Regions from separate parts of the Homo sapiens genome. Here all the other regions are linked to region 3. Evidence: promoter capture Hi-C in 16 types of primary human blood cells and fetal thymus (Javierre and others, 2016). All regions are on one chromosome and are shown on one strand. Each heading gives the region's core, a stretch centred on a gene start or on the middle of the fragment in contact. The rest is flanking DNA. Distances are from core to core; before and after follow the strand shown. Region 1 overlaps BSDC1 (BSD domain containing 1). Region 2 holds the start of HCRTR1 (hypocretin receptor 1). Region 3 holds the start of KHDRBS1 (KH RNA binding domain containing, signal transduction associated 1).

What was found. The method cuts DNA at HindIII sites, captures the fragments that hold promoters and counts their contacts. A CHiCAGO score of 5 or more calls a contact.
Region 1: a contact is called between a fragment that was not itself captured here and the fragment with the promoter of KHDRBS1 in region 3, in 2 of 17 cell types (naive CD4 T cells and non-activated CD4 T cells). The highest score is 5.7, in naive CD4 T cells.
Region 2: a contact is called between the fragment with the promoter of HCRTR1 here and the fragment with the promoter of KHDRBS1 in region 3, in 2 of 17 cell types (total CD4 T cells and total B cells). The highest score is 5.8, in total CD4 T cells.

The regions. Positions count from the first base shown.
Region 1 is chr1:32,375,842-32,378,722 of GRCh38, reverse strand. It overlaps BSDC1 (BSD domain containing 1), which reads left to right. Exons shown (of 11, transcript NM_018045.8): 7 at 440-508; 8 at 675-753; 9 at 1,982-2,461. Among named protein-coding and RNA genes, the nearest start is that of TSSK3, 15 kb to the right of the region's middle. The HindIII fragment of the contact is 3,585 bases long and covers 1-2,881 here.
Region 2 is chr1:31,616,009-31,618,938 of GRCh38, reverse strand. HCRTR1 (hypocretin receptor 1) reads right to left here and starts at 1,250. Exons shown (of 9, transcript NM_001525.3): 1 at 1,058-1,250; 2 at 123-183. RefSeq lists an enhancer at 645-1,334. The HindIII fragment of the contact is 12,367 bases long and covers 1-1,416 here.
Region 3 is chr1:32,012,183-32,015,206 of GRCh38, reverse strand. It overlaps KHDRBS1 (KH RNA binding domain containing, signal transduction associated 1), which reads right to left and starts at 1,339. Exons shown (of 9, transcript NM_006559.3): 1 at 830-1,339. The coding sequence starts at 1,211. RefSeq lists silencers at 331-440, 921-1,130 and an enhancer at 534-1,104. The HindIII fragment of the contact is 9,365 bases long and covers 1-3,024 here.

The DNA.
Region 1 (2,881 bases), core at 329-2,828, 360 kb before region 3:
TGAGGGCCCAGCCTGCAGGGCCTCAGCCAGCTCCAGGCTTGAGGTGTTGGGAGGTGGGAGGGACATGTTCAGAGTCACTGCAGAGTCATCTGGCCCGGAGAGCACTGGGAGGCTCCATAGAGCCAGACCAGCTGTGTCCTGAGCCAAGACCCCACATGGGAGAAGCTGGTTTGCCAGGCTTCTGGCAATCAGAGAATGGTGAGAAATGGAAGGGCCAGCAAAGCCTGATGGGAGTTCTTTTCTCACTCCTTGGCCAACCCGGACTAGGAAGGTGGGTCTGGCTGAAACTTTGGTGGGGGTGGAAGTGCTCTGACTGTCACTGCTAAGCCACTTACTGGGTCTGAAATCCAGACTGGCTGGGAATAGACTGATAAGGCTGGGGACACAGACCCCACACAAACACTCCCAAAGTCTCACCTCCATTTTCCCCTCCCTCCAGGTTCCAGCAGCTGTTTCCCATTCAGAATTCTGGCATCGGTATTTCTATAAAGTCCATCAGTTAGAGCAGGTATGCTGGTCTAGCATGGGGAGGTCCCCACTCAACCCTGGGGGAAGCAGGCTGGATTTATTGAGAGAAGAAAGGGATACAGGGTGCCAAGAGTTGTGGGATCAGGACCAGGGTCTAGGAAGAGGGTGCCCTGACTGCCTGTGGCCTTCTGCTCCCCCACATTCAGGAGCAGGCCCGGAGGGACGCCCTGAAGCAGCGGGCGGAACAGAGCATCTCTGAAGAGCCCGGCTGGGAGGAGGAGGAAGGTAAGAGGCGTTGAGAGGTGAGGGGCAAGTGTCACATCTGTGCGGGACGCTCTGGGCTGGGCCATGCTCTCTGAAGCCTGGAGAGACTTGGTGCCCATCAGGGAAGAGTAGGGAACAAGCACATTGTATGTGTGAGGATAGGCGGAGCTAACAAGGGGATATTGAACAAGGCTAGTGGAATTCCGATTTAGCTACAGAAATCACATGTGTCAGTTGGTGTAGATTCCCCTGCCAGCCCATGAACCAGCTGCCGCTTAGTCACTGGGGAGCTTCTTGAAAATCCAGATTCCTTTCCCCACCTTCTAAAGAAGACTGTAAAGATGCGGCCAGACATGTATTTTAAACAAGTTCCCTGGTAATATTAATGCCCAGGCTGGTTTGGGAACCACTGAGTTAGGGAGGGAGCTGAGCATCTTCTACCTGTAGCTCAGCTTAGAACAGCATGTTGAAGCCTTCTGGATGATATAATATTAACGCATTTCTTGTTTACACCATATGTCCAGGCTGCCCTAAGAGCTCTACACAGAGTCCTTACCACAACCCCATTACCCCTCTTAAGGATAAAAGTAAGTTAAGAGTAAGTTAAAAGTTAGGTGGCTTGCCCAATCATACACCTAGGATGTAGCAGAGTCCAACCTGAACCCAAAACTGACTCACTTCTGAGCCTTGGCTTTCTAATCCATAACAGCCCCTTGGACTGCATTGCTGGAAGCCCACCAGGCATTAGGCCCCAGGGCTAAACAGGACTTTGACTAGCAGGGACTGTCTGCAGAAGCGTTGTGATGGCGAAGGGGTGAGCTGAATGACACTATTGAGTCTTTTTTTTTTCGTTTTGAGGCAGAGTCTCACTCTGTCATCCAGGCTGGAGTGCAGTGGCGCAATCTCCGCCCACTGCAACCACCGCCTCCCGGGTTCAAGCGATTCTCCTGCCTCAGCCTCCCAAGTAGCTGGGATTACAGGCACGTGCCACCACACCCAGCTAATATTTTTTGTATTTTTAGTAGAGATGGGGTTTCACCGTGTTGGCCAGGCTGGTCTCAAAAACTCCTGACCTCAGGTGATCCACCCGCCTCATCCTCCCAAAGTGGTGGGATTACAGGTGTGAGCCACCATGCCCGGCTTGAGTCTTGATCAGAGTACACTTTGGCAGGAACTTGAGAGCTCCAAGGTTGTCTTATGGCTGGCCAGGTTACATTTCCCTCTTGCCCCTCCCTTTCTCTCTCTACAGAGGAGCTCATGGGCATTTCACCCATATCTCCAAAAGAGGCAAAGGTTCCTGTGGCCAAAATTTCTACATTCCCTGAAGGAGAACCTGGCCCCCAGAGCCCCTGTGAAGAGAATCTGGTGACTTCAGTTGAGCCCCCAGCAGAGGTGACTCCATCAGAGAGCAGTGAGAGCATCTCCCTCGTGACACAGATCGCCAACCCGGCCACTGCACCTGAGGCACGAGTGCTACCCAAGGACCTGTCCCAAAAGCTGCTAGAGGCATCCTTGGAGGAACAGGGCCTGGCTGTGGATGTGGGTGAGACTGGACCCTCACCCCCTATTCACTCCAAGCCCCTAACGCCTGCTGGCCACACCGGCGGCCCAGAGCCCAGGCCTCCAGCCAGAGTAGAGACTCTGAGGGAGGAGGCGCCCACAGACTTACGGGTGTTTGAGCTGAACTCGGATAGTGGGAAGTCTACACCCTCCAACAATGGAAAGAAAGGTAGGTCTGGAGGTCCAAGCCCAGAGGGTTGTGTGCGGTCAGGGCCACCTCCTGAGGCAGATTTGTCTCCTTGTCCCTTGTTAGGATACTATGAGCAGATTTTTTTTCGTTTCTGATAATGATGACAGCTGCTATATATTGACTATTTGCTAACATATTTCATTCTAAGTTGCACAACATCTCTGAAATAAGAATGCATCTTCAATTGTTGGCATCTTAAGAGTCAACAAAACAAGTTTGATGCCAGATCCCATGCTAAATATGTTATATGGCACCTAATTTCTCAGTATTATTGTCCTCATTTTACAAATGAAAAAAAGTGAGGCCCAAAAATATTAGGTAACTTGCCCAAGTTCACATGGCCAGGAGGCCCAGATTCAGACCCAGGGCTGTCTGACTCCAAGCCCATGCCCTTAACTA
Region 2 (2,930 bases), core at 1-2,500, 400 kb after region 3:
TTGGTGGAGGAAGACAGACCTGGGTTGCATCCCAATTCCACACCAGTTGCCTTGGGTAGCTTACCTGGCCTCTTTCAGCCTTGGTTTCCCCATCTGTCTAATGGGGTGACAGCCCTACATACCTTACAGGACCACGATGAGGAGTAATGAGCTCCGATGCGTGCCAAGTGCTTCACCAAGAACCTGGTACGAGAAGGTAGTTTCGGGGACGTTTCCGGTTACCATTATTAGGGTACCCTGCTTTGCAGATGAGACCGAAGCTCAGAGAGATTGAGTCTCTTGCTCAAGGTCACAAAGCTCTTAAGCCAGGTCTGTTCGAACCCACCAAACACCGTAGATTTGGGAGGAGAAGCCATCCCGATTGCAAATATTTCTTGAGCCAGTTCAGAGGCTTTAACTTTGGGTTGGGAAAACGGGCCAAGGGAGGTGTTAGAGACCCAAGCCCCACCCGCCATACCTGCCAGACCCTCCGGTGGGCACTCGCGGACACGCACACATACAACACACACACAGTGGGGGTGGTGCGCGGAGGGACTGACGACCCCTTGCGAGCAAGGGGAGCATCCAGGCCCCCTAAGAGGCCCCTTTGGGTCCCCAGGGCCGCGACGCTCCCCGACGGCCGCCAGGAGCCGCTGTTCCGGCGCGCGGGTCGCTCTCCATTCATAAATCCAGCCAGCCCAGCTCCCCGCCCCTCCCCTCCTCCCGCACTCAGCCCCTCCTTCCCCCGGCTGGGCTAGGACGACCCCGGCCAGGTGCCGGAGGGTTGCGGATCCCTGGAGACCCCTGGGGAAGGGGAGGGGACGCCTTCATACCCCACTGAACGCCGGCAGGCCCGCTCCGTCCGCGGGACCTTCCTGCACCTCGGGGGCTGGCGGGGCTCCGGGAAGGCGCGGGGGAGCGAGGGCACTCGGAGCCTGCCTAGAGGAGAGCAGCGCTGGCCGAGGAGCCAGTCTCCCAGCACCCAGGTTACCCCCCGAGACTCTTGGCTCCTCCCATCCCTCGCCGCGGGTCCTTTGGAACCCCCATCCCAGGCCTGGGGGTCCCCCACACCCCGCACCTGTTGGCTCCGGGACCCGGGCGTTCTCGGCTGCTGGTCCCCGGACCTGGCACCGGGGACTTCGCCTTCCTGCGAGGAAGGCCGAGCCTCTAGGGGCCGGGACTGCAGGAGGGGGCCGGGGCAGCCCCCTCCCTAGGCTGCGCTGCCTCGGCTCGCGGGGCTCAGCACGATCCGCGGCAACTGCGCGGGCTGTGGCTCGGCGCGGGCTCCGCCGGGCTGCGCGCTGCGGGGAGGGAGGGCCGGCGGGAGGGGCAGGGCGGGGTGGGAGCCCCCAGACGGTCTTGGCTCCCTGTCTTCCAGCCCCGAGACCCGCAGGGCGGAGGGAGACGCTCGTTCCTTCTAGCCTCCCACTTCAAGCTTCCATCCCACCTCCATTCATGCGTCCATCCGTTCATTCATTCCATCCTCATTCATTCAACATTTATGCCCCTGGCCACCCCGCATTCTGGGCGCACTTAGTGTGTGCCGGCGGGCCTGGCAGCTTCAGAGGGCCACAGTGCAGAGGTGGAGCCCAGCCCCGCCTCTCCTTGCTGCCTCACCTAACTGAGGAGGAGGATGGCACAGGTGGGTCACAGGGGTGAGACAGAGAGGATGCCTGCACCGCCTCCAGCCTAGCTCCGGATGCTGCTGTAACAGCTAGCTCCCAACGATGCCAGAGAAGCCTGTTCTCCCATCTCCCAGCCCCCCATCCTATCTGCCCCCAGTTTCTCTTTTTGTTATACCTACTGTTCCCCCCAAAAATCAAGGACGCCGGTGGGGACAGAAGTGGGGGTTCGTTAATTCCACAAATAACGATTTATTAAGCTGTGTGCTAGGCAGTGAGTTCTAATAATACAGCTACCGTTTGGATAATGCATATGATGCCTGCTCTCATTTAATCTTCATATCAACCTGGTGAGGTGGTCGTTATTGTCCCCATTTTACAGATAAGGACACTGGATCCACATGGCGCAATGACTTGCCCAAGGTCGCACAGCAGAGGCAGAGCTGGGCTTTGAGCCTCTGCCCCTCTCAGGCCTCTAGCCTCTCTCACCAGACACAGTCTCCCTCCCCTGCAAAATCTCTCTGGCTGGTGGGGGAGGCAGGTGCACACCCAGGCAATTAACCTGTGGTGTGAGGAGGGTGTGAGGGCCCTGGGGGCTGTGGGGCACAGGAGGACAGACCGACTCAGCCAGGGCATGAGAACAGGCTTCCTGGAGCAGGGACATCTCCATGGAGACCTGAAGAATAAGAAGGTAGCCTGCAAGGGGGATTGTGGTATTCGAGGAGAGGCATTCAAGGTCAGGAAACAGCAGGTGCAAAGGTTTGAAGGTTGGGGATTCTGGAAATCACAGGTAGGTGAAGGGTGACTGCCTGAGCATCATGCAGTCACCTTGGCCATCCCCTAGCTCAGCATAGGACATTCCTAACATGTCACCCTCTGAAACTCACACTGTTTCCCTCCTGGGAGGTGACTCCTGGGATGCAACCACCATCTTTCCCATTGCAGCCAAAGCCCTTTTCAAAGGCTCTGAAGATGCGCCGTTAGGCATAGGAGGTGTGGGAGAGGAACTGGAGCAGCATAAGGGAGGGGGCCAGTGACCTTAACCTCTGCAGAACAGGAGGATGGACTGAAGCTAAACCCAAGGCAGAACTTTGTCCTTGGGCAGGTATGGCATCTGCATGGTGTGTGATGTCTTGTCTTCCCTAGGTGCTGGCCGAGGTAGGAGAATGAGTGAAGGGACTCAGAAGAGGGGCTGCTGTGTGTGTGTGTGTGTGTGTGCGTGTGTGCATGTGTGAATGTGTGGGTGTGTGCATGTCTGCATATGTGTGCATGAGTGTGTGTTTGTGTTTGAGTCTTGAATTCAAGTAAGGGCTGTGGTGTGTGTCTAGG
Region 3 (3,024 bases), core at 90-2,589:
AATCAAAAATGTAAAAAACAGCAACAAAAAGGCCAAGCCTTTCAGTACAAGCATCATGCAACTTCTCTCAATTTCTGTCCATCTCGTTGGGAAACGTCATGTGAACTACGCGGGAGTCCCTATCGTCCCATTTCACTGTCTCTAGGGTTACTTCACTCCTTCAACGACAGTGAACACACGGTGTAAAATGGCTCAGTAGCAATTCTTATTTTATCAGCCTTAGTCGGAAATCTGATTCGGAAACCTCAAGCTCCGATCCACATAAATCGCTCCTTCCTCCCAGCAACTTAAGCTGCGGTTACCGCTAAGTCCGGCTCGGCCCCAGCGACAGCAAGGCACTGGACAGGGCATTCCAGCCTCACCCCACCTCACCTCGGCCCTTCCTCCCACGGTCCCTCCCCGCTCTGGCTGTCTTCACCTCCTACACCTCGGTCGAGGCGCTCATCGCCACCCGCGATCAAAAAGGGTTTCCCTTCAGGGAAAGGGGGAAATGAAGGTTCATTTCTGGAAGAATCTGCGCGCCCGGCAGCCGCAAGAGGAGGGAGGAGGGAAGAGTCGGGAAAGGGGCGGGGAGCTCAGCACTATCCATCAAGACATTAGCGCTAGGGGATCGCAAAGTCGCCTTCGGGCCTCCACTGCAGCCTAGAAATTCTCCCACGCACTCCGGGCTGAGGTGGGAATGTGGAATCCAGGCTCCCAAAAATGAGGATGAGACCGGAACTCCCGACTGCCTCGGTCCCGAGGGGGCGGGAAGCGAGAGGAACAAAGCCAGGGCCACTCATGCCCGGGATGGCCGGGCGACCCAGAGGGACACGGGAGGCCCCCTTACCTGCCGTCAGCAGCTGCATGGCGTGAGTGAAGGACGGGTCGAGCGAGTCCTTCTCGGCCATGAGTTCGGGCAGGTACTTGTTCTCTGGCTCCATCTTGACCGAGGCTGTGGCCGAGGGGGGCAGCAGCGGGGTCGGCGCTGGCCCGCCCACTGTCGCGTCGGGACCCGTGGCCGAGGGCGGCAGCAGCGGTGGCGGCTGCGTGGCGGGCGAGGCCCGGGCGCCCCCGCGGGATCCCCCTCCGCCTCCCCGGGACCGGTGAGGCAGCGGCGGCTGCCGAGACGGCGTCTGACGCACCGAGGGGTGGGCACCGGAGGGGTCCATGGAGCCGCTACGGCCCGAAGACCGGCTCATGCGCGCGGCGGGGTCGTCCCGGCGCTGCATCTGGGAGGATGTGCGATCCAAGGAGCGAGAAAGCGACGCGGCAGCGACGGAGGCCCGAGCGGCGGTTGGCGGGGGTGGCAGAGCGGGAGCGGTAGCGACCGAAGCCGACCCGAGCGACCCAGCGAGAGAGAGCACCGGAAATGAGGCGGCGCGCGTGCGCAGCCAGCCACCGGCACCGCCCTTGGGTTTCTCCGCGGAGAACAAAGTCCCCAGTCCGGCCACGGCGCCTGCGCACCGCCGCGGCGTCCGAGAAGTCGCCTCCCGACTCTGGCTTTCCCTCCGCTCCCGCCAGGCCAGAGCTTGATGCGCATGCGCGGGAGGCAGTGGGCTCCGTTCGTTTCGTTTTCCACGTGACTCGGCGCTAGCGGAACACGTGTCTCCTCCCCTTTCTGGCGTGGAGGGGGCGGGAGCTGTGGAATGTCTTTGTCTGCGCGCGGGCCCGCGGAGTGTGGGGCGGGAGACCTGTTACTCGCGGGGCCACGCCCTCTCCAACGGCTGAGCAGTGGAGGGAGGCTGTGGGGAGTGGGGTGGGGGGCGGTCACCGAAGTAAGGAAGTAAAAGACTGCCGAGAGGGTCACGGAAAGGGGAGGGAGAGAGAATTGAGACCGCCTGGGGAGGAAGACAGGAGTGAGACAGACTGCACAGGGAGAAAGGAAGGCTGAGGGAGAGTCTGATGCAGGGGGAAAGTTGGGGAAGGGAAACCTGGAGGGAGAAATTGAGGAAGGACGGCTTGGTGGAAACACTGAAGGCGATTGGAGTACTTGAACTAAGAGGGATGGTTCAGATCAGAGATCTGAAGTCTAGCAAAGAAAAGGGTCCCAGACATCAGGGAACACAAGAAGTTGTTTCCAGTATATATATTTCCAGTATTACATATATTCCAGTCGGTTCTAAAACGGTTGACATTGTTGGTACGGGAAATCTTAAGCAGCATTTTAGCTCTTTTTACATATTTTACTGCTTTTTCTGAATTGTGTTTGTTTTGTTTCGCCGTCATTATTGCCAATTAAGTGTTTCTTCCTTCAAAAAGTGAGGTAGAGACCAGATCCTTAATCCACGTTGGTTGCATCATTAGGATGGCTTCTTCTACCACTCCAGACTTGCTCAAAGAGACCCTTGCCACTACTCTCAAAGGCAAGGTACATAGTGGACAGTCGCCTACGACGTTCTCCACATCCTGGTGTGCTATATGCAAGTGGAGCCTTAGGTCCCTACTTGTCCCATAAGCCATCAAAAGCCTGGTGCCCTCTCTAACTTTCCCTTCCCTCCGCAGATTATTTTCTTCTTCCATTTAAAGCACTCACTCCCATCTCTTTTCCTTCTGGATTAGTTCTCCTAATGAGCCCACACTTTTCAAAAGTCTTTGGGGACCGGTGCGGTGGCTTATGCCTGTAATCCCAGCACTTTGGGAGGCCTAGGTGGGAGGATTACTTGAGGCTAGGAGTTCGAGAGCAGCCTGGACAATATAATGAGACCTCATCTCTACAATAAAAAAAGTTTCCGCCCGGCTTGGTGGCTCATGCCTGTGATCCCAACACTTTGGGAGGCCGAGGTGGGCAAATCACCTGAGGCCAGGAGTTCGAGACCAACTTGGCCAACATGATGAAACCCCATCTTTACTAAAAATATAAAAATTAGCCGGGTGTGGTGGTGCATACCTGTAATCCCAGCTACTTGGGAGGCTGAGGCAGGAGAATTGCTTGAACCAGGGACGCGGAGGCTGCCGTGAGCCGAGATCACGCCACTGCACTCCAGCCTGGGCAACAGAGCGAGACTACGTCTCAAAAAAAAAAAAAAAGGAAAAAAAGGTTTA